Linked DNA regions of Homo sapiens: all the other regions are linked to region 1. The links are contacts of gene promoters, found by promoter capture Hi-C in blood cells and fetal thymus (Javierre and others, 2016). All regions are on one chromosome and are shown on one strand. The core of a region is centred on a gene start or on the middle of the fragment in contact, and the rest is flanking DNA. Distances in the headings are between cores, read along the strand shown.

What was found. The method cuts DNA at HindIII sites, captures the fragments that hold promoters and counts their contacts. A CHiCAGO score of 5 or more calls a contact.
Region 2: the fragment with the promoter of KLF10 here is called in contact with the fragment with the promoter of PABPC1 in region 1 in 3 of 17 cell types (monocytes, fetal thymus and total B cells); the score reaches 9.9 in monocytes.
Region 3: a contact is called between a fragment that was not itself captured here and the fragment with the promoter of PABPC1 in region 1, in 1 of 17 cell types (monocytes). The highest score is 7.0, in monocytes.
Region 4: a fragment that was not itself captured here is called in contact with the fragment with the promoter of PABPC1 in region 1 in 1 of 17 cell types (monocytes); the score reaches 6.9 in monocytes.
Region 5: a contact is called between a fragment that was not itself captured here and the fragment with the promoter of PABPC1 in region 1, in 1 of 17 cell types (total B cells). The highest score is 5.0, in total B cells.
Region 6: a contact is called between a fragment that was not itself captured here and the fragment with the promoter of PABPC1 in region 1, in 3 of 17 cell types (total B cells, monocytes and fetal thymus). The highest score is 11.7, in total B cells.
Region 7: a fragment that was not itself captured here is called in contact with the fragment with the promoter of PABPC1 in region 1 in 3 of 17 cell types (monocytes, neutrophils and total B cells); the score reaches 9.8 in monocytes.

What each region holds. Positions count from the first base shown.
Region 1 is chr8:100,720,355-100,724,078 of GRCh38, forward strand. It overlaps PABPC1 (poly(A) binding protein cytoplasmic 1), which reads right to left and starts at 1,734. Exons shown (of 15, transcript NM_002568.4): 1 at 1,037-1,734. The coding sequence starts at 1,229. RefSeq lists silencers at 911-1,020, 1,701-1,780, 1,861-2,570 and enhancers at 973-1,805, 1,860-2,360, 2,361-2,861. The HindIII fragment of the contact is 6,173 bases long and covers 1-3,724 here.
Region 2 is chr8:102,654,103-102,657,826 of GRCh38, forward strand. KLF10 (KLF transcription factor 10) reads right to left here and starts at 1,623. Exons shown (of 4, transcript NM_005655.4): 1 at 1,464-1,623. The coding sequence starts at 1,499. It overlaps LOC101927245 (a long non-coding RNA gene), which reads left to right and starts at 2,146. Exons shown (of 5, transcript NR_160672.1): 1 at 2,146-2,684. RefSeq lists silencers at 1-592, 1,493-2,512, enhancers at 1-359, 1,653-2,253, 2,854-3,454, 3,455-3,724 and a promoter at 1,479-2,213. The HindIII fragment of the contact is 6,240 bases long and covers 1-3,724 here.
Region 3 is chr8:102,311,925-102,315,648 of GRCh38, forward strand. It overlaps UBR5 (ubiquitin protein ligase E3 component n-recognin 5), which reads right to left. Exons shown (of 59, transcript NM_015902.6): 15 at 2,820-2,929; 16 at 1,880-1,992; 17 at 418-561; 18 at 210-321. Among named protein-coding and RNA genes, the nearest start is that of UBR5-DT, 74 kb to the left of the region's middle. The HindIII fragment of the contact is 2,930 bases long and covers 260-3,189 here.
Region 4 is chr8:102,291,241-102,294,964 of GRCh38, forward strand. It overlaps UBR5 (ubiquitin protein ligase E3 component n-recognin 5), which reads right to left. Exons shown (of 59, transcript NM_015902.6): 33 at 2,715-2,875; 34 at 2,365-2,604. Among named protein-coding and RNA genes, the nearest start is that of UBR5-DT, 54 kb to the left of the region's middle. The HindIII fragment of the contact is 797 bases long and covers 2,077-2,873 here.
Region 5 is chr8:102,273,137-102,276,860 of GRCh38, forward strand. It overlaps UBR5 (ubiquitin protein ligase E3 component n-recognin 5), which reads right to left. Exons shown (of 59, transcript NM_015902.6): 46 at 2,572-2,692; 47 at 2,385-2,483. Among named protein-coding and RNA genes, the nearest start is that of UBR5-DT, 36 kb to the left of the region's middle. The HindIII fragment of the contact is 3,650 bases long and covers 1-3,428 here.
Region 6 is chr8:102,254,645-102,258,368 of GRCh38, forward strand. It overlaps UBR5 (ubiquitin protein ligase E3 component n-recognin 5), which reads right to left. Exons shown (of 59, transcript NM_015902.6): 58 at 2,988-3,073. Among named protein-coding and RNA genes, the nearest start is that of UBR5-DT, 17 kb to the left of the region's middle. The HindIII fragment of the contact is 1,257 bases long and covers 889-2,145 here.
Region 7 is chr8:102,230,460-102,234,183 of GRCh38, forward strand. RRM2B (ribonucleotide reductase regulatory TP53 inducible subunit M2B) reads right to left here. Exons shown (of 9, transcript NM_015713.5): 2 at 1,690-1,845. Among named protein-coding and RNA genes, the nearest start is that of RRM2B, 6.6 kb to the right of the region's middle. RefSeq lists a silencer at 1,251-1,470. The HindIII fragment of the contact is 1,661 bases long and covers 809-2,469 here.

The sequences.
Region 1 (3,724 bases), core at 484-2,983:
ATTTAATCTCCGTTATTTTGTACTCAGTCATTTCCCAAGATTTACAGGTATCATGGGCCACTTTTAAAAATAAAAGAGAAACTTGAACTTCTTGCATGCTACAGATAAGACTGGTCCAGTTGGAATTACACTAAAGTAACATTTTATAGCCAAAGTTGACTATTTTATAAAGAAAAGCCCCTCAAAACGACAGGAACTATTTCAGAAGGTAACATAATATACTCGAAAACCACCAGTACTGTGAATCTAAGATAAAATTTGACTAAAAATGGTCTAAGTTGCCTGAGAAAACTGGCCTTCAAAGTGGTCGGCTGCCACATCCCCTCCTCCCACTCTGCCCTTTTAATGTTAGAGAAATGCTTGATCTAGGGGAAACCCCAAATGCATGTCTCCGGTAAATTCCATTCCTAGATCCATCAGTCACTGATGAGTTCTGGGAAGTGGACTCACAAGCCTGAGGACCACCACCACACCACACATCGCCACAGGAACTTTATCCTAAGGCCTGGTGGCTCCCCCAGGCGACTGGGCCAGGAGCAGGAGCAGAAGCAGGCCTCGGGCCTGCGAGGTTACAGGGTTCAACACGTGGTATTTTTCGAGCACAGAACTGCACTTCCTCCCCAGGCTGGGGCGCCGGCAGGAGCTCCGGGTGGTGGGAGCGCCTCCACCTCTTACCCACGGAAGGAGCTCAGCGTTCAACGCCCCAGAATCCCGGGGCCACTGGCGGGAGCGCCGCGGAGGAACCGAATCTCACCCACCCTCCCGGCGCGTCATCACCCTAAAGTTTGAGAGCGTCTGAGGCCGAGAAAATGGTCGCAAAGGAGGAAGTAGCCGGGCGTGTGGCTGCCGGCAGCGCGGGTCCCCGCCGGCTCGGGAAACGCGGCTCCAGGGACCCCGGCGCCTTCCCGCCGGCCGTCGCGGGGTGACATGCCCTCCCGCCCCCCTCCCCGGGCCCGCCGGCCTACCCCGCCCGCCGCCGCCGCCCGAGCCTCATGGCCGCCCGCCCGCCCGGCCGACCGCGGAGCCCGGCGCTCACCGTCCGCCGGCTGCTGGAAGTTCACATACGCGTAGCCCAAGGAGCGGCGGGTGATCATGTCCCTGCAGACCCGGATGGAGAGGATGGGCCCGGCCGGGCTGAACTTCTCGTAGAGCATCGCCTCGGTCACGTCGGGGTGGAGGTCCCCCACGTAGAGCGAGGCCATGGGGTAGCTGGGGGCACTGGGGTTCATCTCGGCACGGCTGCCCGCAGGGCCACAGGCCGCGACCTTTCCGTGAGAGGAGGAGAGCGAGTGCCGGGGCTGGGGGCCGGAGCCGGGGGGAGGGGAGCGGGGAGCAAGCGCAGAGGGACAAAAATCAACCGGAATTGAAAACTACTCAACGGCCGCAGAACGGGGTCGATCCACTGCCGCTGGCTGCCGGCTGCCGGCGGGGAGCGAGGGTGGCGGTGTCGGGTCCGGGCAGCGGGAAGGCCTCGGTCTCTTGGTTCCTTCTTGGAGCTGCTGCGGGGCCGCGGGCGGGCGGGTCGGTCTCGGCTGCTTCACCGGGTTATTTTATAAAAGAGGAAGAAAAAAAATAAAAGTCTCCGGCGGGGGAGACGCGGATTTTTTGTAAATTTTTTTGGGGTTTTTTAAAAGATTTTTTTAGATTTTTTTTGGATTTTTTAATAATAAATGTGTGTTCCGAGCCCGGAGCACACACTCCGCACTCTCAGCACTAACCGCCGGGGAGAAGGGGAAGCACCGCCTCCTGCACCCTCTACTTATACCCCGCGCCGCACTCGCCCCGCCCCCGCGCGTCTGACGCCAGGGCCCCTACGCGAGCGTCAGCGCCGGAGTAGGAGGAGACGCGGAGGCCAGGGGGAGGAGGGAAGAGAAAACAGGAGGAAAGAGCAGAGAGGAAGGGAGAGGTGGCGGCGGTGGAGGCTGCGGTGTGGGGGTGGGGCTCGGGCGAAGGGGCGGGGCTTTTGCGCAGGCGCCGCGGCCGGGGAAGCGGAGCCCGCGCTGCGTCGCGTCCGTGGGGGTGGGGAGGACGGCTCGCGGGCGGTCCTCGGGGGTGTTGGCTGAGGCGTCCCCGCCTTCCGCCCCGCCCGCCCCTGCCTCCACCAGGAGGAGCGTTAACCCGTCACCGCGGCGGTGGGCGGTGCAAAGGGCTTCCGGGTTCCTCCGCGCTAACCACCCCCCACGTGCGCGGCCGCCTGTGGCCTCTTCCCGCTGCGGCCGGCCCGGCTCCTCTAGCCCCAGCTCCGGGGGACGCCGGGCACGGGTGAGCGGGCGTGGTCCCCTCCGGGCCCGGTTTCCGAAACGTGCGTAGATGGAGCCAGCGTGGCCCCCTGCTCTCTCCTACCCGGACCGCACTACGAGTCCCAGCCGGCACCGCCGCCACGCGCGTCGGCCGCAGAAGCGGTGCCTGCTGGGAGCTGGAGTCCCCAACGGCCGCGGCGCTCGCTGACACCAACTGGCTGCGCGGGTCCTGGCCGCCCGCTCCGGGACCCCCCAACCGTCCTGCGCGCTGGACCCCGGCACCGCTGGAGCTCCCGGCGCGGGGTTGGGGGGCAGGGAGAGAGAGGGGAGGGCCCCTCGGGTTCCTCGTCCTCTTCTTTTCCAGCCCGACCCTCCTCCGTGTCTTCACTGGACGTTGTCGTTGGTCAAAGTGGCTTTAATTTGGGATAGCTGTGTTGGGGGTCTTTGGTCACTTCTTACCTTAAGGTGCTAGGCTGGAATCATTGATTTGTGCTGCTTCTGCCAGACATTTCTTGGCGATAGAAACCAGGAGTGGAGAAAAGTGAATGTTTTTCCTGAAAGTACGGGTTTGTCACAATCACTACTATATGGCACCACAGCCCTGCAACCAGACAAAATTAGGAATAGTCTAAAACAACGTCCTTATAAATAACTAAAACAATTCTGCACATTAGTAGTGGGTTTTAATAGGAATGCTAAATTTAACGAATTGATAGTAATAAAAACCGGCTCTAGGAATGACATTAAATCAACATACAAATTCCACTCGAAAGTAGTAAAGTGCTTTTACAGTTTTTAAAGCACTCGCGTAAACATACTATCATTTGTTCCTGAGAGCAATCTGGTGTGGGAGGTGGAGCAAGTAGTAATAATTTTACTTTACTGTTACAGGAACAGTCTCAAAGAAGTTAAATGATTGCCCAATTTATTCCTTAATTCAATAAACTTTAATGGATGTCAACTGTATTGCTAGGTGTGGAATTAAGTACTTTATATCTTGTCTCATTTAATTAGAATTTAAACCAGTGGAATCCCACATAAATACTATTTTGCTCCTATTAAAAAGAGGATAAAATGTGACCGGGCGCGGTGGCTCACTCCTGTAATTCCAGCACTTTGGGAGGCTGACGCACGCTGATCACTTGAGGTCAGGAGTTCGAGACCAGCCTGGCCAACATGGTGAAACCCCGTCTCTACTAAAAATACAAAAAGTAGCCAGGCGCGGTGGCTCACGCCTGTAATCCCAGCACTTTGAGAAGCCAAGGGGGGCAGATCACGAGGTCAAGAGATCGAGACCATCCTGGCCAACATGGTGAAACCCCGTCTCTACTAAAAATACAAAAATTAGCTGGGCGTGGTGGCGCGCGCCTATAGTCCCAGCTACTCGGGAGCCTGAGGCAGGAGAATCGCTTGAACCCGGGAGGCGGAGGTTGCAGTGAGCCAGGATTGCGTCACTGCACTCCAGCCTGGTGACAGAACGAGAC
Region 2 (3,724 bases), core at 373-2,872, 1.9 Mb after region 1:
GGGGGCGAGGCATGTGAACAAAGCGTGATCAGCGGCTGCTCCGGGAGGCGCAGGAAACGTGAACTGGGAATTGCCGCGCCGTCACCTTTCCCCTACTTCCTGAGCTTGCGGGCCCCCGCCCGCGCCCGACCCGGGGGAGGGGCCGCGGGCGCCGCCGCCAACCGCCCGGCCGTGCGCGCCGGGCCCGCGGGGAGGGGCGGGGCTGCGGGCGCCAGGCTCCGGGAGGCGCCCGCCCCTTCCAGCTCCCCGCGAGCCGCCGTTCCCTTAGGAACCGACAGCGGGGCCGGGCCTCGCTCCCGCCCCTGGCGGAGGCCGGGGCTGGGTCACTCGGGGACGAGAAGCTCCCCGGGCGCACCCGCTCCCGGCCCACCCCCGGCCTCCGCCTCAGATGCGGGAGGAGGAGCCAGGTCCCCGCGGAAACCCGGCCGCCGCCCTCCTCCCGCCGGCAGCCCCCGGGAACCCGGCCGAGCCCTCGGCACTTCCCGCCCACGCGGCCCACGGGACCTCAGACCACCCCGTCTCTCCCTGTAGACGCGGCGCCCCCTCCCCGTGGCTTCCGGCAGCTCCAGGCCCCTCCCGCCGCGCGTCTCCACGGGTTCCCAGACGTGCAGCCCCCACAGGCCCCGGCTCCAGACGCGCGGCCCCCGCGTCTCGCGGCCCAGCTCCCCCCGCCCACCTTCCCGCCCCAGCTGCTGGGTCCCGCTTCCCACCCTCCTGCCCCAGAGGCGGCTCCCCGCCTCTTCCAAGGAGTCGTCAGAAGGCGGCCACCTGCCCCTGGGGTAAGAGTCCCCCTCCAGACGTCTGGGGGAGCAACTCGTCCCCCAGGGCTGTCGGCGGGCCCTCGTGTCATCCCCCCGCTCCGACGACAGGCGCCCCTTCCCCCAGCCCCGAGCTATCTGCTGAGCAGCCCCCGTCTTCCAAGCGTGGGTTCAGACCCCCAGGATGGGTAGCCCACTCGCCTCTCCTGTGGACACCCCGCCTCCCGAGTGCTTGCGAGCAGCCCCTTCCTCCCCTGGCTCGCGTTCCTGAGCCAGACCGGGCATCTCTCCTCGGTACCAGGTGAGGGTAGCCCCCTTGTCCCTCCCGCGACTCTCGTTCCACACTGTACCCCAACCTCGCTGCAGGGCAACGGCCCCCTCCCCACTCCTCCCCCGCTCGTCATCCTCCTCCTCACCAGCCCTCTCGGGTCTCCATGCGGAGTTGTCCCTTCCCCTCAGTACATCTAGAGCAAGACCCCTGTCCCTGTCTGAAGATCCCAGCCCCCTGGTTCGACCCCCTCCCGAACACACACGCCCTCACTAATGCCCATAGTCTGCAGGCAGGAAGCCCTTTCCTTCCCCACGACTCCGCTGCAGCCCCAATTCTCAGGCATGGCTGATGTCCGGGGCTCGGGGTTCGCGCCCCCTTTGGCCCCCCAGACAAGACCAGGCGAGGAAGCACAGGGGCATCCCCAAATGACTTACCGCAGTCTGCTGGAGAGAGGCACCGAAGTTGAGCATGGTTGGCTGCTTGGCCGCCGGCGGCAAGCTGACTGGCTGCTAGGCTGCTGGCTGCTTGGCCACAGACGGGCGCACGGAGACACTCGACGCCGCTCCCGCCGCCGCCGCGCTCAGCGCCGTCTGCCCCCTCCCCATTCAGGTAGCCGCTCAGCCTGCCCCGCGCCGCGGGCGGGGGTGGGGGCGGAGCCTGAGGCCGGCCAATCAACGGCAAAGGTGTGTGAGGCGCCGGCCAATGGGCTCGCGGGGCCACGCGTGATCGGCGACTGCCCGGCAGCGTGAAGCTGGTGTCAGTGGAGCGTGTACACAATCCCCGGCAGCGTGTTCCCTCTGCCCTGCCCCGGGGAACTCCAGAGGCCACCTGATTGAGTGACGCCCCCCGCCCCTCGCCCACCCCTCGCCCACTCCTTGCCCCTCGTCCCCCGCCCCTGCCTAGAGAGGCGGTGCCGCGGCCGGGGAGGCGCGGCGACTGCAGCGCGCCCAGGCACTGCGGAGGGCCAGCCCCACGTGGGGGGTGGGGAGGGATGCCCGCTCCGCCCCGTCCCCTCCGCGCCGGGCCTCGTCTCAGCCCGCCACGGAGTGGGCGGGACGCCAGGCAGGCGGGGGACGCGGCGGCTGCCAGCCAAGGGGCCGGAGCCAAGAGATTTGCATTGGAAGCGCCATCCTCTTGCGCGTCTGATGAGGAAGCAGAACCCGGTGACCGACTGAGCTGCATTTCTGAAGCATTTGCTGGGTTTTGCCTCACTAAGCCTCGGGGAGCACTGGGGCGCGGGATGGGGGACCCTGTCACGGAGCCGACACCTGCTCGCGCGCCTCTCCCCCGCTCACGCCGTGCCGCGGGCTCGCCCTCCCCATCTGCAGCGCCCGCAGCGCCTGCCCGCCCCGCCCATCCTTCCTCCTGGGCAACCCAGAGGATGGCGTGAGGACTCCTGGAAGCCCAGAGGACCGGACCAGGGGCGTGGTGGGGAGCCGTAGACCCGAGTTTTTATCCTTCTCTGGCGCCGACACTCGGCTGCGGAATCGAGTTTGAGCTCGGTGTAGCTGAAGTTTAAATTGTAGCTGTTTCAAAGGTAGACCCCACCTCACCCCCACCCCTGGACCAAGACCTCTGGAAGCGTCCTGCCTGGAAGCCGCTTGTGGGGAGGGCTCTCCTAGGGTCTCCAGGCTCCCGCTGGAGCACGCCTGGAGGTGGGTTTGCCGGCCGTTCCCTGAAACTGGCACCACTACCGCCCCACCCACCCACTCCAGCTGGTGGGAGGCAGGCTGGGTTTCTGAAAGGAAGCCGCCCGTGTGCTGCGCCTGGGGGCTGGGGCTAGGCCTTCTGATCAGGAAAGCCCATGGCCCTGCTTTGGCACGGATTTGCCCCCGTTTGGCCGTTTGTGCGTGATCACAGCAGCTGTTGTTGGAGAGGAAGGCAGTGATAACGGGGCTTAAAGCAAATCGGAGATCTTATCCGATTTGGACAGGCTGAATTTAAGGCAAAAATCACTGTCTCTCCTTCGAGCACTCACGTCTCTGTAACTGAATGAAAGGCTGGTAATGCAAATAGCATTTCTATCCCAGTAATCACAGAATGAACACAGGAAGGGAATTAATTCTTTTAGAAACTGCCAATGCTATGCGTATCTTCCGATGGTTTTTTTCTAATGTATCTAAGGCCCAGGCTAGCGAACAACAGCAATAATAATGATAGTAATACTGTTGGCCAGGACCAGAGAGGCCCAGGGCTGCGGGGATGAGGAGGGAATGGCCTCCTGTCACCGCCCCTCCTGAGTCTGCTGGAGAGGCGCCAGCTCAGCAGCCCGGCAGCTCTTCCTGCCTCTCCCCACCCCATGTCCCTGCTTCTGTCTGCGGGGTGTCCCTCCCCACAGGTTTCCTTCCGCCTGGGCTGTCCCATCCTGTTGACCCAGCCTGAGGGCTGGAGCAGTTGGCCCTGGACACTGTGGCGGGAGAGGAAGCTCCTGTATGCCCCTCCGGCAGGCCTACCTTCCTTCCTGTCGGGCCCTCCCCTGGGGTGGCTTCTGCTAGACCCTCCAGGCCAGAACCCTGTCCCTTCCTCAGGAATGTGGGGCCTGCTGGCCTGGCTCCCCAGCGGGCTAAGAAGCAGGGAGCGGTCTTGACTTGTGAGAGTGATTCAAAACAGGAAAGAAAAGAGAAAAGGGGTAGGAGGAACAGTGTGGTGGTGGCACAATTCCTAGAGATTCAGAGAAACATGTTTGCCGGGCTCC
Region 3 (3,724 bases), core at 475-2,974, 1.6 Mb after region 1:
TACATCTTATCTCTAATAAACATCTACAATATTTTAACTTCTCTGGCCACACTTGTAAGTCAATTCAAACAGATACATGCCATTCCATAATGTTACAGATAGGGAACAAAAAAATGCCAATGCCCTGAATTATTTTATCATATTCCCATTTCCTGAACAAGTATTAATGGAATATAGGATATGCCAGCTGAAGAAGTTTCAAAATTTACCTTTGGAATCTACATTCACTGCTAATATTTCTGTTTTTTCAGGTATACAAAGCTTTTTAGGAGTCCTTTGGAAACAGTCGGGAACCTTCGGTGTTCCACCAGTTTTGACAACCTGCATGACACAAAAGGAATTTTGCTTTCAAACTCCATAATAAACTCACGGAGTCAGTTCCAATATTCACTTGCTGAATAACTTCTTTACACTTACCTGCAATTCATCAATTCTAAGTAACCTACAATCCTGCAGGAGAGAAGAAGGGTCAGCATCTGGACCAGAGCTGTTCTGACAGTTAGTATTACTGGAGGTTCCTGGAAATTTTACAGCAACATAGGCACCATCTACTTTTAGCACCTGGAAGTATAGGCAAATTCAATGAACATTAGCAATAGCTTATATAAAATCAACATACAAATTCTATTCACTGAACTAATTTAATGTTAAAGGAATCCAATTCTTTGTATGTTTCTTCAATGATCACCAAGTTATAAAATCAACCCAGACAGACTCTGAGCTTTGCTACTGACATCTATATTCAAGGCTCATTTGCTAGAGAAAACTGACCCACACAGCCAGTGATTACAGTCAGTGAATGTTTTCAGTAATCAACTGAAAAACTTAAGTATATAGCCCGTGAAATCCTCCCATCTCCTAATTAAATTAAAGCAGCCTTCGGTCTGACAGAACTTTCTTGAAAATGGCAACGTTCTATATTGGCGGTGTCCAATACGGCAGCCATTAGCCATAAGTGGCTACTGAGCACTTGAAATGAAGCTAATGTGACGAAGGTGCTGACTTTTTTAAGTTATTTGATTTTAACAAATTTAAACAGCCACATATACAGCTAGTGGCTACAATACACTCAACACAGGGATAGGGTCAGCAATGCACAGAAAGACAAGCACAGAATTTGAAACCAGGACAAATTTGGGTCCCACTTCTGCTACTTGATGCTTTTTATTTTAAGCCCGTATCTAATTCTCAGAAGAAAACACCTACCCATGAACTACAGGTCTATTTTGAGAATCAAATGAAACGGTATATGAGAAAGACCTTTGTAAGCTGCAGAAACTGGTATATCTGCTCTTTCCTTTAAGTATAAATGAAAGACTATCACGTTTCAGAAACTACTGAGTAATCATGAAAACCTTTACTTTACAGACATTCTACAACTGCAAGTGCATTTTAAATATGTGTCAGTAGAAGAGTGAAATTAATGGCACTCAAATTGATGGTTTCTTAGAAGGCAAAACAGAAGAGAGGAGAAAAAGTGGAAGGTGACTTGTAATAAGGTTTTTCAGTACTCTGGAAGAATTTTAAATGTCATGGAAGATGATCTCAACTAGAACTAAGAGATCCAACAAATGGGCTGTACCAAAAAGTAACGTATCTCTATGCAACTTTTCTACAAAACTAAAACTATTCCCAAATAATAGTTTTTTTAAAAAGCAACATATCATCACAAATGCTCAAAGAGAGGCATAATCTCTTCATCTGTCAGCGACTGAGAAGACAGATCTGCATCAGATGCAGGGGTGCAACTAAAGATACCACTGAAGATGATAAATAAAACAGCCCTGAAGAAAGGACTCAGATATCAACCACAAATCCCTGGATAACCAATATCATTATAATTCTGTTAGTAATTAAGTTTTAGATATCTTGAACAAACCTTGCCAACAGGAACATTCTTGACATCTTCCACAAAAACCACTTCCCGAAGAGACCACTGCTCTTCATTCACCTTTTCCTCTTCTTTTGGTGCAGGGGTTGACCGTCGTCGTTCTTAGACAACAACAAAATGGTAAGTACCAAAAAGAAAATGTAAAAGAGACTTTATAGATTTCATCTAAATTTATAAGAAAGACTATCTTTAAAGGGATACATAAGTGAAGTTTCTCAACAATTTCCTAAGCTACTGCTTTATGAATTGGAGTTTTCTGATCAATCTGTACTTCAAATAAATTCACAGTGAAGAACAACTGTAACCATTAATGTTTAATTGTATTAACACCAGTATAAACAAGTACAAAGAAATAGCGTAAAATGTATTTTGTACTCCCAAAATTATAGTATCTAACCAGAGTTTAAAAAGGAAGATCTGCCAGATAGTTTTAAGAAAACTATCACATAACTATTAAAGTCTAACTTTTAATTTCCTAAATTGCAAAGCAATTAACACCATAAAATTTATTTTAAGGAATTTTTGAAAAAATTCTATCCATGGTGTGGCAGTAAGTCTAGGTTTATAAATTTACAAATTTTGAGCAAAAGTTGTGACCAAGACATAATCAATTTACAATAATAAGAGTCTCAACAAAAGTGAGTAGATAGACTAGCTAGTGGCAATTATTTCCTTCTATTACTATCATGAATTTCACATATCTTTTTAAAACTCTAATTCTGAAAAACAACAGAAATAGTCAACACTGTAAATACCATCTTTCTATTCAAAGAAGGTTATGCAAAAAAAAAAAACCAAAGTAATAGAGATACAAATTATATAAAAAGATGTAAAAAATGATATGAGTTGCCTTAAATCAGAAACAAACTAAACACAGCTGTCTGCATGAGACCTATTTTCACAAATGCATACAACAAATAAAACTTACTGTATGGCATTGATGCACTGCTGGCAATTGAGGATGCATCACTACACGTGGATGCTGGAGATGGTGGAGGACCCATTTCTGTTTTCACTGGCTCCTGCTTACTTTCAGGCCTGAGATAAGAAATAAGATTCTCCTTATAATTAGATAAATGAAATAATGGAAACTAGTATTTTTTAAAGACAAGTATTTTCTTATAAAAGAATGAATATTAAAAACATTTTTATTAAACTATGTATTTATATTAATTTTTTCATTGTATATTTTTAAGACTCAAGAATAAAAGGTACACAATGCATGCTTTCAAATAGTGGTTTAATATGGGAAGGAAAAATATAAAAGCTATCAACAACTTGAGACAATGATTCAGATAAGCTTTATCTAGAAATAACGAAATTTACACTTAATTTATCAACACAGCTTTGTCAAAGCCTCTTGAGCAAACAAGTTTCACACTGCAACACTGCTAAGATTTGGATATGGCAATTTAACTGAAAAAAAAAAAGGGTAAAGGCAAGTAAGTAAAAAGCCCATTAGACCATTAATTTCATAGAGTTCCAAGAAGAAACTCTACTCACAATGGTTTATAAAAATTTATTCTTAAACCATCTGGTGACAGGATTAAAAAACTAGCCCTCTTTAATGAGTTATTTAATACTCTGTTTAAGAAAATAACTACAGCAACTAAACAGCATTCTACAGATGGTGCAAACATAAATATTTTTATATATTAAAGGGTAGAAATCAGTTTTTAATCAGAAAAGTCACTGATTATTCACAAATTTGTTATTTATATACCTATTATAAACTGGACCATCATCTTAACCCTCGTCTCCTATTACTCTCATCAGAAATTTCACCTGAGTTTAGAAATAATCTAAAAGAAAACTGGTATTATTTTCACCAGG
Region 4 (3,724 bases), core at 1,225-3,724, 1.6 Mb after region 1:
CCACTCTTGTTAAGGAACACATATATATGCTAGATATTAAAAAAAAAAAAAAAAAAAAGGACAGCTGTGCAGGTGATAAAGAGAAACGACTGTACTGTATAAAGCTTGGAGAGACAAGTGCCACCATTTATCCCAAAGGGACCCACTGATGTCTCTTGGGCTAGAAGGGCTTCAAGGAACCACAGATTTCACATGAGAGTCTGGAGGCTAAGCAAAGAATAGAAAGTCATCACAGGAATCTCCTCTTCTGTCCCCCTCACATATATAAAGCTAAACATAAATCTTAAAAGGGCAACACCATGAAGGAGTGAAACAGAAAAATCATACCTCGAGAGATTTACCTATCTCAGCCATGAATAGATGCAGAATGGAAAAAGGTCTCTTTTGAGAACTTCTAACTACAAGTCTGCATTTTGGAGAGTTTTGGACTGCACTCTACACTATAAAGCCTGGTTCAGTGTTGGTTAACTGTGTGGTGGCTCAACACTATGAGCAAGCACCAAGTAGTCTTCCTCTCTACTCTGCCATCTACTATTCAGGAGAATACAAAAAAAAAAGGAAGTATCTGTCAAGGTAAGTCCAGCGTCTAAACTTTAATTAGCTGTGTTACACTGGAGAAGTTGCCTAACTTTTCTGAGCCGTAGTTTCCCCATTTGACAAACTAGAATGATAGTGGTTATCTATGACATATTGGGAAAATTAAAACAGGTAATCTGTCTACAATACTTAGGAAAGTTCCTAGTACATACTAAAATTTCAGTAACTGTTAGTTACTGTTATATGAGAGACATGGAAATAAAGTAGAAACAGATTATTTATTAAGAACATAACAAGAACATTTTCAAGAGGTGGAAAGAAGCAACAGAAAAAGCTACTCTTAAGACTTCACACTCAATGGGGTGATATACACCTTCTATAATCCAAGACAAGTGAAATCCCAGAGAATGGTCAAGGTCTGTGTTTTTCAACTTAAGACATCCTTGGAACACTAGTCAAAATACACCCTTTATGGGTAAGAATGTACTGTACTATAATAAAGAACTTTTAACAGTTGAAGAAAACATTAGCACTATTTCTTGATTATCACATGAGATCTCCTTCTGGGAAGATTTAGGAAGTTGTCTCAAGAAACAAGCAAAGGGAATGGAATAAAGAGAGTTTAAGAGTATGTAATACTTTAATAATGAGACTAAGAACAAGATGACACAAAATCTTGAAACTTAGTAGGAACAGTTTCAAGGGCAGTGTTTAGAGATGAGACGATCCCAAAATCTGTTCAACAGCCATCAATTTTTTATGTTCCAGAACAAGATCAAGGGAAGTATACTAAGAATTCACAAAGTAATACCACTTAAGTAACTAATGAGTTCCTCACAGGGTATCAAGATCAGGAAAATCATACAGAGTCCAAGCAGATCTCACAAGCAGAATTATTTAATCATGGGATAGATTTGACAAGTCTGAAGATACACAGCTTGATTTGTAACAGTTTTCAACAAGTCCTGGATGTATATCAGTATCAAGGATACTATGGGAGAGCTCTGTCAGACAAAACTGGATTTAGATTAAAGGGACACCTGACATTAAAGGAAAAATTGGGACACATATACTGGCATATAGGAGAATAGTGAGAGCAGATACTCAACACCAACCCAGATCAAATCCAAGCGTAACAACTTGGGAACTATCCCAAACACTAAAGCAGGCCATCCTTATTAACAGAGATGTTTTCCAGAAAAGGAGGAAAAGGGTCTTTAGATCCTAAAGGTCCTTATTAAAACATCATCACACATGCACATGGTTATAAAATCAGACTTGAAAAAACAAAATACACTAAATATTTGCCAAAGATCTACAGCATTATTACTGAAAAGTCTGACCCCTAAACCAGCAGAATTGGCATCACCTGAGAACTTGAAAGGCATACGAAGTTGGAGGCCCCACCTCAAGACCTCTAGAGTGGGCATCTATATTTTAATAAGAGCCCCAAGTCATTTTCATACATATTAAAGTTTGAGAAGCAGTGTGCTAAAGGACATCGGAAAGTTTTAAGTTGCTCAACATCCTGATTCAACAAGCTTACAGTGTAATTAGGGAAACTATCAAACAAATAGAAAAGATAAATGAAACTTAAGAACAAATAATCTTATAATTAGAAACATTTATAATGGAGTTATTTTAGCCCTGTCCTTGATAATACAGTTGTTGTAGAAAAATATTTAAAATTCCGGCTTTCTGGTTGTTATTTATGTTACACAAATGATCATGTACACCACCTGAGTGCTTATGCAAAGGTTTTAGGAAGTCAAACACGACATTTCCAGAGAAGGATTAATCAGAATCTGTTACCTGGTAGCAATTTACCTGCTAGACTGATCAGATGATGGTCGTGGTGGTAGTGGTTCCACTGAAAATAATTCTTCACTGCCCTGCATGGCATCTATGCTAGTACTAGCCAGGGTAAATGGTGCAGTTGGACGAGCAATCCCCATTCTGACAGGAACAATCAGTGACTCTGCTACGTTGCACAATTCTTCCACAGCGTAAGGTAGCAATGCTTGGAATACACGCTTGCATTTTCCAATTGGCTGTGGAATAAAGTTGCTAGAACAAAAAGAGAAATATCAGCAATCTATCTTTTCATATACATAAATCACTATCACAAAAACAGAGTGAAAATGGTATCTAAACCAAAATCAAAAAGGATGCCTTACTTTTTCTTTTTGGATGAAGCCATTTCCACACTCAGAATAACAAAAACTCTTGCCACTGAACGTAGAAACCTCATTGTCACAGCAATAGCTTCTTCTCTACGTCCAGGTGTATATTTGTTTTGGAGTTCTTTCACTAGTGTACCTAGTAGAGTATCTAAAAGCTTTAAAAAATTATATTCACTCTATTAATGTTAAGATACTTCATAAGATGTTTAGACATTCATAAAGTTATAAGTTCTAACATTTTTTAAGTATTAACATTTTATAATAAAATCTCAAAACAAATTTAACCAAAACATTTACAAGGTCAGTTTATGAAATATACCTGCCAATGTGCTTGACATACAGTGAGTCCTAAATGTACGATTTCTTATTTTTTGTCCCACAGTCCTTGGTATATCAACTAATATTTAGAAGAACAATACCAAATATATGAAATCAGAAGAAGAAAACATAAACTCAGTCTGGGGCACTTTCCAAAACAGCAAAGCAGACTCAAATATTTATATGAATAAATTCATAATCCCATCTCCCTCATGGAACCATTATTACTTTCTAGTCTCTTTTCTGTGTGCAGCTTCTTGTATAAATGTTAGCTACAGAGAACACCCAATTTTCACAGTTTGGTTGTTTGGTTTTTTTTTTTACGTTATTTACAATACGATTTATTTTTAAATTGCTGCATCATATTCCAGTAAGTGGTCAGGCTATAATTTGATTCAAGATTACACTAGTATTAGGCTGATATTTTTCTGTTTTTAAATTTTACATTATTCTGTGACATGCCTTTATTTTTCTCACATCGTAAATTATTTATTTATGACAGGTTCTGAGGGCACTGATAGTTTTATGTTTTCCAGAGAAAGGAACGATGCAATGCCACCCCATCCCTATCTGAGTGTGTTATTACCATAACCTCATTCGCACTGGATCTTAAGGTTTAAATTCTTTTCTAGTTTCACAGCAAAGAAGAGTACTTGAAAAACATACTTTTCATGTACTTGTAATAC
Region 5 (3,724 bases), core at 354-2,853, 1.6 Mb after region 1:
GGCGGGAGGCTGGAGGGGGACTAACCAAACTGGAAAAATTGTTTGCACCTTTTGTCACAAAGATACATATTAATTAATGAGTGTGTCTATCACCTACAGCTACATAAAAAGCCTCTGAAATCTGAGAGAAAGCCAACTTAGAAAAATGGGCATATCAACTGAGTTAAATATAACTATCCTAACTATATGAAATAATGTTTAACTTTGCTCAAAATAAGATAAATTCAAATTAAAACTATACTGAGGTGCTATTTCTTACCTATTAGATTAGCAAAAATCTAGAAATTTAACAACTGCTGGCGAGACTGAGCAATCAGGCATTCTCACATTGATGGTGAAAATGCAAAATTATGCAACTGCTTATGCAGAAGTATTTGTCAATGTCTAGCAAAATTATATGCACATGCTCTTTGACCCAGCAATTCCATGTCTAAGAATCTATCTCAGGGACACACTAGCAAAAAAAAACACGAGGCCATTCATCACACTATCTGTAATAGCAAAAGACTGGAAACAAGCCCAAATACCTAGTCTGTAAGGGATTAGCTGCAAAAACTGCGATAACAACCATTAAAGTGCAGTACATTAAGCAGCTATAAAAGGAAGGTAGAACATCTCATATTTTCTCTGGGATATACTACTAAGTGAGAAAAGCAAGATGGAATAAAATGTATAGTATGTTTGGGGAGGTGGGAGGAGGTATGTAATTAATACATACATATGCTTATATGTTTTAAAAGGGAGGGAAGGAAATAAACTTGAAAAAATGGTAAAAGAGACAAGAATGGACTTATATCCATTCTTTTGTAGAGTTCACTCTGCCACACTGTAGATATTTTACATTGATTACAAAATAAAACCAAAAGAGGAAAAACGAATCCCTAAAATCTGAAAGCAAAATGAAACAAAAGGCCCTAATTATATAGAGCTGGTAGCAAAACCTACAAAGAAGAATTACTTCAAGTGACTTTAAAACAAACCTAATTTAACTGTGTATCTCTAACTGCATATGACCTAAGGACAAACATCCGCAAATAAATCTTCAATTATTTTGAATAATCATTTTGTTAGTGGTAGTGTTGATGTTATAATTCTTTGTAAGAGACAGAGTCTCTCACACTATGTTGCCCAGGCTGTCCTCGAATTCCTGGACTCAAACCATCCTTCCACCTCAGATTCCAGTGATGTAATTCTAAGACTGCTACTGTGTATGTTGTGGCATTAAAACAAATGAGTAATTTGATTAATGTTGTTGGGAAGTTGGCTATTCAGTTTGAAAGAAAGGAGATAAAGACTTAAGATCTAAGAAGCAAGGCCAGGTGTGGTGGCTCACACCTGTAATCCCAGCACTTTGGGAGGCCAAGGCAGGTGGATTACTTGAGGTCAGGAGTTTGAGACCAGCCTGGCCAACATGGTGAAACCCTGTCTCTATTAAAAATACAAAAATTAGCCAGGCATGGTGGCAGACACCTGTAATCCCAGCTACTCGGGAGGCTGAAGCAGTAGAGTCACCTGAACCCAGGAGGCGGAGGTTGCAGTGAGCCAAGATCATGCCACTATGCTCTGGCCAGGGCGACAAAGCAAGACTGTCTCCAAAAAAAAAAAAAAAAAGAAAGAAATCTAAGAAGCAAACATAACAAAAACAACCTTGTGGTCCTAAATCCTGAATTTGAATTGGGAGTATCAATATTAATTCATTATTTGATTTTTTAAAAAGAACAAAAAAAATGCATTCCCAAACTGTTATCAATTAAAAAGGCCTAGAAACCATGATCAACCCAGTAGCAATATGCAACCTTAGAGCACAGACTGTAATCTCATAACACAATTTCCTACTAAAAGGAATCAAAGCTACTTTAAGAAATGGCTGATTTAAGGTCTGTGACAGGAAATACCCAAGATGAAACATACCAGAAAGTAAGAAAGTTTATCAAAAATTATTGGGGCCATGTCAAAAGAACTCAGGAATCAAAACTGACTCAAGACTCCCATTAGCCAAAGAAGACACAATCTGAGCATCAATATGAATAATAATCTCAATGGAATTAAATACATCAAAAAAAGTTTAAATCAATGCATGCATAATGATACTTAAAAACTAAAACAAAAAAATTCATAGAGGATGCTAGGGAACCAAACTGCCAGAGAAAACTACTATTCTAAATTTGGTGGTTACAATAAGAAAAAAATAAAAAGAAACCACACACACACACACACACACACACGAAAAAATAAATTTGGTAGTTAACATTTCTTTTTATTTTCTTTAAATTTTTAATTATAAGTACATATCCCTAAGCAAAGCTATTGTTATTTTGCATGTTTTAAAATTTATATAAATAGCATACTACAGGTATAGTATAAGAAAATCTAAATACCTTTACCTCTAGTGACAAATCTCTTGACTGCTGGTTTCTCAGTTTTTCCATTTCTCTGCGGAATTTTGATTCTTTTACCTCAAAACCACCCAATTCAGTTAGGATCTTAAAAAAAAAAAAATGCATGACAGATTATTCCCTGAAATACATGCTTATCAGGCAGAATGGAATTTAAGGTGCACAAAATACATACTGATCCAGGTTCTGCTCCAACATCTTCCATGAATACCCTGCCGAACAGTTCTAAAGAAAGGCGCCAACGTCCTAGCAGCATATCATGGGAAATAACCATTCCCATAAAGCTACACTGTGGCCTGTAAGAAGTTTAAGGGAAGGGGTGGGGGGGAGAAATAATTTAGCCAATTTCAAAGACTGATTGGTTTTTGTTCAATGGTAGTAACTTACTTTTTTTAAAAAATATTCTGAGGTCTTAACTTCTTCAAACTGTGTCCTAACAGAGAACTTTTCCATAGCTACTTGTTCCCGACAACTTATTATTTTTCCTCCCTTATTCCTTCTGTATTCTACATACGGATAAATCCCTGGGCTATGTCTTATCTTCGTCTTTCATTTTACCTCCTCTCCTTAAAGTCCAATGTCTATCTCCATTTAGGTGACTCCCAGATCCACCTCTAGTTCAAACTTTCACCATGAACCAGAATCTCCATTTGTTAAATAAATATGTCCACGTCAACGATGCTCAATTCAAACTCAGCATGGTTAAAACTTAATATGGCTTCTTCACCACAATGACAGTTCTCCTGATTTTTTTTCAGTAGTAACATCTCTTTCCCTAATGCCCTGACTTAGACCAGATTTTAATTTTTCTTCCTCCTCTTCCTTCAAAGTGATCAAGTCCATCTTAAGTTTCTCTTCCTTTCCATGATGTCCTTTCTAAAGCCAACATTCTGCCTCAGCATCTTTCCCCCAACTAACTGAAACTATTAGTAATAACAAACAGCTTTTTAGCTGGCCTCCCTACCTCTAATTCTCTCCAGTCTGTTTCTGCACATTCTAACCATCTCAATTCAATCCATATTGCTTCTAGGAAGCTTGGGCCACTCAAGTCCACAATTCTCCCCTGTCTTACATCGTTATTAGACAACGTATATACAGTGTATCTTATTTTCAAACTAGCTTTTTAACTCCCATCTAAGCAAAAAAATTATTATGCCATGTAACCAAAAAACAGAGTCAACAAATCATACTGAGCCACAGTATATACTAACAAATATTTGTTAGATAAACAAAGAACCTACCTCTTGTAAGAGAATTACAAACTTGGAAAAGGAGCACAGATAAGTGTGAATCACAAATCTAGAAAGTTCTACTCTTTCTAGTTATTC
Region 6 (3,724 bases), core at 267-2,766, 1.5 Mb after region 1:
CTAAAAAGGAAAGGGATCATTCATACCTCAAGACAGGTTTTTGTTTTTGTTTTTTTTCCCCAAAGGAGTAAGTCTAGAGTTAGTAGAGGAAAAAAAGGTGACTTTCTGTCACAGAGCCTCAGTATTTTCATCTGTAACATGAGGCTGTTGGACTAAATGGTTTCTAAGAGCCTTTCTTGCAGCTAATTCCATAAAGTGTCTATTAGTGGAAAAAAGGCTGCCAAACAAAAGATACGGTCTTAGGTTCAAAACTCACACAGGTTATCTTAAAAAGTTATTTTGCATTAAGGAGCAAAATAATGCAAATAATAAAATAATAAAGCAAAAAAAGTATTTACTGCTACATTGTGATACAGAATCATTTTATAATAGTAATTATTGGGGAACATCTATCTATGCATCAAAATTCATGCAATAAGCCATATTAACACTAAGTTTTATCATACCTCTGTAATAAAACTTTGTGCAACACAGTGTAAATGATGCTCAGTAAATGTGAACTTACACTTTTTAACTTAACCAAGGATATGCCTCCCTGAAATAGTTTGCTGAACATGTAACATTCCTCATCAATCCATCCCTTCATACATACGCATCATTCTTCAGTGTCTGTCTCTCTTAAGGAAAAGCTTTTTTTTTAATCTAATCATTTTATAATGCACAACAATGAAGTATATCCAATTTCCTAGAATGACTAGGAAACCTAAACAAACTTAAGATTTCCTGAAGCACAGTTGTATGGGAAAGCTCATCTAGAATTCTATATAAAGGGACAGAAAAAAAAAAAAAAAGTTAAGTATCAGGATCTATAAAATCTGAAAAGAAATAGAAAACAGGTACTCTAGAGATGAAGTTGATCTAAACCACTCATTTCATAGATAAGAAACAAGCTTAATATAAAGTGTTTCTCCAAGGATGAATGTGGTTAACCAGGGTAGATGACCTCACTGCTGGATCTCTAAGAAGTTGGAAGAGAAATACTTTTACTAGTGAATTATAACACTCCAAGAGGGAAATAAACTGTAGTTTACCCAATAACTCTGGAAACCCTATAAGTTGCAGGACTAATTAATTCATGGGAGAACTGTTTCAGAAACCCCATTCTTATGTCCTCTAGATGCATCAGGATGAAACCAAACAATATGTGAAGGATGACTTCCCAAAAAGAGGAGAAGGGTAAGGGGGAGGAAGATACCATGATAAACTGCTTACACCCTAAACATAGATTTTCAATAAGAGTTTAAGGTTCACAAACTAAAGCTGTTGACAGGAAATTTTGAGGTCTTTATAGAAGGAGATTTTCTTTTTTCTAAGATTGAGTCACTAGCAAATTTTTCTTTCAGTAGAAGGCAGAAACTCATGAGATTTAAGTTGGCTGACTGGACTGAGGAAATACTGGTTTAAAAACGGCAGAATTGGGAGGCCAAGACAGGCGGATCATGAGGTCAGGAAATCGAGATCATCCAGGCTAACATGGTGAAACCCTGTCTCTACTAAAAATACAAAAAATTAGCCAGGCGTGGTGGCAGGCACCTGTAGTCCCAGCCACTCGGGAGGCTGAGGCAGGAGAATGGCGTGAACCCGGGAGGTGGAGCTTGCAGTGAGCCGAGATTGTGCCACTGCACTCCAGCCTGAGCGACAGAGTGAGACTCCGTCTCAAAAAAAAAAAAAACCTGGCAGAAATTAAAACTAGGAAATAGATTAAAATAGATGACTTAGAACTTATACCAGATAGCCAATCCTTTCTGTTTTTGGTGGTTCTTACAGACTTGAGATGGGGCTTGTCTTAAGGAAACAAGGTGCCCTGAATCTAAAGACTGACTAAAGGTGGTAGAACTTAAGCTATTTAGGTGATCCTGAAACCAACAGGGACAGTTATGGTATTGACTAGTGGGAACTTTTAAGAGCCATAAGACTGGAGAAGTCAAATGCTGACCAATTATATCAAACCCACCTGGGGAACAAACTAAGTCAAAATTACTAGGGTGGCTAAAAGCTGAGAAATGAACTAGGTGGCAGTTAGGACTGCTGAACAAACCCATCTCACCATAGCAGAGAAATATTAGAATACACCTAGAGCCATGTAAAGATTCAGGAGTGCTAAAAGCATGAATTCCCCTCCTTCCCTCCACCACCCCCAAAATAAGCTTCTGCCTGAATGAAGGTAACTGGGAATCTGCAATTTTTTTCTTTCCTGCACAAATAACCACTTCCCCTTATTCAAATAAAATAAAGGATATATCTAGAAATCTGATCATTTTTAAATATTTCCAGAAGTGGTCTAGTTTAGAACTAAGGCTGGTTAGACCGGGGCAATGTTCCAGGAGTACAGAAAGGATCTTCCAGGGTCTTCTAGATAAGGAATGTCCTTCAAATTTCTACAAGAAAGTCTGCAGCATACTGCCTTTCAAGATTAATGGACAGGATGATTTGGTTATGGTTTTACTTGATGGGTGGACGTAAGTTCCACTAAGAGGTAGACTTTCCACTAAGATCAAAGCTTCTGTTATCTAATTTATAATTCTAAGTTAGCTGGGGCTCTGTACTAATAAGATTTTGAAAGACTTAGTACCCACATATCACAATTAAGCTACTCTCTTCCTAGTATGCAGATAACAATCAAGATAATACTCAGAAATTCTGTCAAGGCTTGGCACTAGTCAAAAGGATTAAGGATGTATACAGGGAGAAGCATATGTAGGCAGTGCGATAAAGATAAAAAGCCATGTTGCAACAGTAAACTGGTATCTTCTGGGACTAAGGACAGCATATTAACAGCTAAATGTACTTCACTCTGCTTAGAGCTTTAGTAATACTTCAGATATTGTTATAGAGCAGAAAAACAAAAACTGCCTTATTTGTGACCTTCTATAATTGCCCTACCCAAAATTAAAATGACCAACCATTACAAACTTAAAAGGCCATCATACATGGTATTTTTAACTTCTGTATTTCCTTCTACAAATCTTGTGAAATTTTTAACTTACAAGATCTTGTCGTTCTGTCATGCTCATCTTCTCTACTATTGACCAGAACCAACGCTTGAACTGCAGAAGCTTCTCAGCATTTTCTCCTAAGAATGAAGAATGTAAATAAAATATACTATACCAGTTGTTGTTATTATCTGTAGAATATTACTAATCTTCTTATAATAAAAGGATACAGATTAAAACATTATTTAAGACTTGGGGGGGAGCGTCTAATTCCTAATACAAGAAATTAAGAGCATTTGCATAATGCAAAACCTCTACAGTTCATTAGTCAATCCTGACTCAATATGACCAAAACAAATGAACCACCAGCCTTAAAACTGATATTCACATGAGTTTTATCTCATCTGTATGTCAGTATTCTTATGATCTCAAGAAATGCAGATTCTCATTCATTCACTGGGTGGGGAATGCAGAGAGGGGAGACCAGAGATTCTGCCTGTCTAAAACGCTTTCAGATGATGCCAATGCTACTGATCTGAGGATCATACTTGGAGTGGCAAGATCTTAGGCAGTTTATTTGGATACTGTTTTCCTTCCTAAATTTTTGGTTTGTAAATGAGACAAATTCTTATTAGTATTAAAAACTGTATTACAAGGTAGCACAAAAACTATTACAATATATAATTTGGCTGAAGCTGCTTGCAAAATAGGAAAAATAAAGGGGAAAAAAATCAGTACCTTTGTGTACATAATAATCTTGGAATATAGGTATAATCCTTTCACAGAGAACT
Region 7 (3,724 bases), core at 389-2,888, 1.5 Mb after region 1:
AATGAACGAAAAAGCCACCTGCGTATTCCACTCGTTCTCTGAACCGTATCTAACAAAAAACCTTTCTAAAAACCACAGACAGTTAGGGACAGTCAGGTGTGTCAAGCATTATGACCACGTATGAAAATATTGGGTGTTTGTTTTTGTGTGGTTTGGTTTTTTGCTCTATATGTCAACTATAATATAACAAAGATGTTGACAATATAACACTACAATATAACAAAGATGGGTAAGTGGGTAAAATTAGTGTAATAGAAGCTTCAAACACTGGTGCCTTCTGATTTCTAGGTTAAATTTTCCCCCTTCTGTGCATAAAATAATAGTTTACATTTATTTAGTGCCTACTAAGTGTCAACTACCATTTTAAATATCTCATAAATCCTCATAACAACACAAATAGCCAAGTACAATTAGCCTAATTTACTGATGAGGATACACAGAGAGGTTATGTAACTTTCCCAGTTCCATAGCTAGTAAGTAGTGGCACAGGATTTGTACCTAGGCAGTCTGACCCCATAGCCTGCATTCTTAACAGCATGTGTTTAACATTTATAGAATTAATGTCTTGAAAAATAGATTCAAATCTATCTATCCAAATAGATACATCTATCTATAGAGATACATATACAAACATATACAGAACAAGAGTGCTGTATAGGTATCACCCATTATATTTAAAGATCAAGACAATAACTATTTGTTCAGTTAGACTACAGGGCAATCATTTTCATGACCACTGTCCTTACCAACCAGCAAATATTTTCTAGTTTGCTGTGTTCAACTGATCTCCCAGGTGGAATTAACAAAAAGCTTTCTACAGCTGATCTATTAGTGGCAACTCTGTCACGTTTGATGTAGCTGAGGGCAGGGCCAAACTGGGAGCAGCACTGTGAGTTCCACCTGGCTGACTCGGGAGTGAGTCCACAGCCTAGAGGATCAAACTCTTCATGCAGCGGCTCATTTTGTACAATCAGATAAATCTCTCAATTGAAAGCAGAGTTGCTACAGCTTTCACTCATTTTTTGACTACAGCTGCAATTTTACTTATTCTGCTGACCTTGTAAGACTAGTCAGACAAGTCTTACTTGGCCATATCAAACTAAAAGTCTGTTTAAAAATAGAAAATGTTGGCTGGGCGTGGTGGCTCATGCCTGTAATCCCAGCACTTTGGGAGGCTGAGGCAGGTGGATCACAAGGTCAGGAGTTTGAGACCAGCCTGGCCAATGTGGTGAAACCCCATCTCTACTAAAAATACAAAAATTAGCTGGGCGTGGTGGCTGGCGCCTGTAATCCCAACTACTCAGGAAGCTGAGGCAGGAGAATCGCTTGAACCCGGGAGGTGGAGTTTGCAGTGAGCTGAGATCGCGCCACTGCACTCTAGCCTGGGTGACAGAGTGAGACTCTGTCTCAAAAAAAAAAAAAAAAAAGAAAAAGAAAAAAAATGTTCTAATATATTGGAAATAAAAATCTGGCAGAATTAGATGCCATTGTTGCAGCAGAAAACTTGTTTATAGATAGTAATCTAAACTAAAACATTGAGAACATCATATTTAGTCTCAGTAATTCCAACACTTATCTTCTACAACTGATCTTCTTCAATGTATAAGTTAAAGTTATTCAATATCCTGTAAAACAAGAAGGAACACTGCACTATAGGATGTGAATGCTCTTGGAGGCAATGCCACGTACCTCTTCTGCTGTCCAGAAGGAAGCCTGTGCCTGTTTATACATTTTCCAAATATCAGGGTACTGGATTGGAAAGATGACAAACCGGCGAGAACTCTTTCTTAGGAGTGGCTCTTCATTTGACTTTATTTCACTTTCGTTGGTGTCTGAAGATGATCTCTTTGAAAAATAAAGTACAAACACGCCTTTTATATAGACATTTCTTCTTTATTCATACCTAAACATACATCTAAGGAAGTCAGGGAGACGGCATTGGTTTGAGAGCCTGTCTGCCTGGGTTGAATCCTTACTGTTACCTGGTAGCTGACTAATACTGTTAGGAAGTGCGTGTGTGACCATAGAAAGCTGCTTAACTTCTCTAACCCTCAGTCTCCTCAGCTGTAAAATAATTCCTACCTCATAGGTTTATTCTGATGATTAAAAGTGCTTTAAACAAAGCCTGGTATATAGTAAGCACTCAAAAATTATTGTAATTATTGCTAGTTTGAGGATAAGTACAAAGCTAGACCCATAAATGTCATCATGATGGGCAAATTTCTAAGTTTGTGAACAAAATGTCCCTTTAGAGCCTCTCTGATAAGATTGCTGGAATGAATAAGCTACTGGTATAAGCTACTTTAATGTTTTTTCTTTCTACTCTTCACTGAAATAATATAATACTTATCTGAAAACTCATTACCTACAACTTAACCTTTGTTCATCTTAGCCTTCTGATACTCCAATTTGTTACTGCTATTTACATTCTAACATTACTGCATATGATCTCACTGTGGGCTGTCTCAAAGCTTTGTGAATAAAGTGAGAAACACATACCTGTATTCACACTGCTTCAAAACACGATGGCACTCTAAGAGCAAATGGTGCCATGCATATATTTTTAAAATAGCGGGAACATCAGAAGAGAATCAGAAGAGTCGCACATGTGTGAGAATGAGTATAAACAAAGGACATACAAATAAGCTAAACGTGTATAAACCAGGATTAGAACACATACAACTTCTAGACTCCTATCCAAAACTGTCTCTCTCTCTACTGTGACAGGCCCGTTATGTTCCTTACTCCAGCGTCCACCCATTGTCACCTCGCCAAAGCAACTGTTATAGCAGAGGAGGCTAAGGCTTAGCAAGAAGAAAGCCCAAAATACAAGCATACGGCTATGCAAATACAGGGGGGCTTGCGTGCTTTATACCTACTGCCATCACAGTACAGATGGTCTTGATTTTAACTACTTGTTTAAAGGTATGGGCCTCCTCAGATACAGCACTTGAGCCCTGGAGAAGAGGAACCAATTTTTATTTGTTGTGATGTTCCCAGAGCTTAGTATCGTGTCAAGCATGTTAGCTAAGTAAATGGGCTGCTAATTTCTCTTCTTCCTGTACTCAGATTTCTAGGTACCTTTAGAAAATTTTAATTTAACATAGGACCACAATACATCAGTGAGACAACCCAATAACCATTAAAATCAATCACATTTTCCCCTCTTCACATCACCCCAAAGGTCTGGGTTAGGTTCCAGATATAAGTACATAGCTCACTGCAATTTAATTCCCTGTTAATTGTCTCTAATTTCCTGTGCTTCTTGAAAGTAAAATCCATTTTCACCCTTGTAGAATCCCTTGTGCTTAGCACAGTACCTGGCACTTAGTTGGTACTCATTCCACAAATATTTGAGCAATTTTTTTTTAAGACTGGGTCTTGCTCCGTCACCCAGGCTAGAGTGCATAGATCAGAGTAGTGTGATCATAGATCACTGCAGTCTCAAACTCCTGTGCTCAAGCAATCCTCCTGTCTCAGCCTCCCAAGTAGCTAGGACTATGTGCACACGTCACCACACCTGGATAATTTTTAAATTTTTTGTAGAGATGGGGGTCATGCTATGTTGCCCCGGCTGGTCTCAAACTCCTGGCCTTTGTTATTTTTATTACTGAAATTTGGGATATACTCAAAGTATGAAAGTTGGGAACTTCTATACTTTTGTTACTGGAAGTTGGGAAGGACATCACAAGCAGTCACTCTTCAGCACCAAATGCCCTGACGA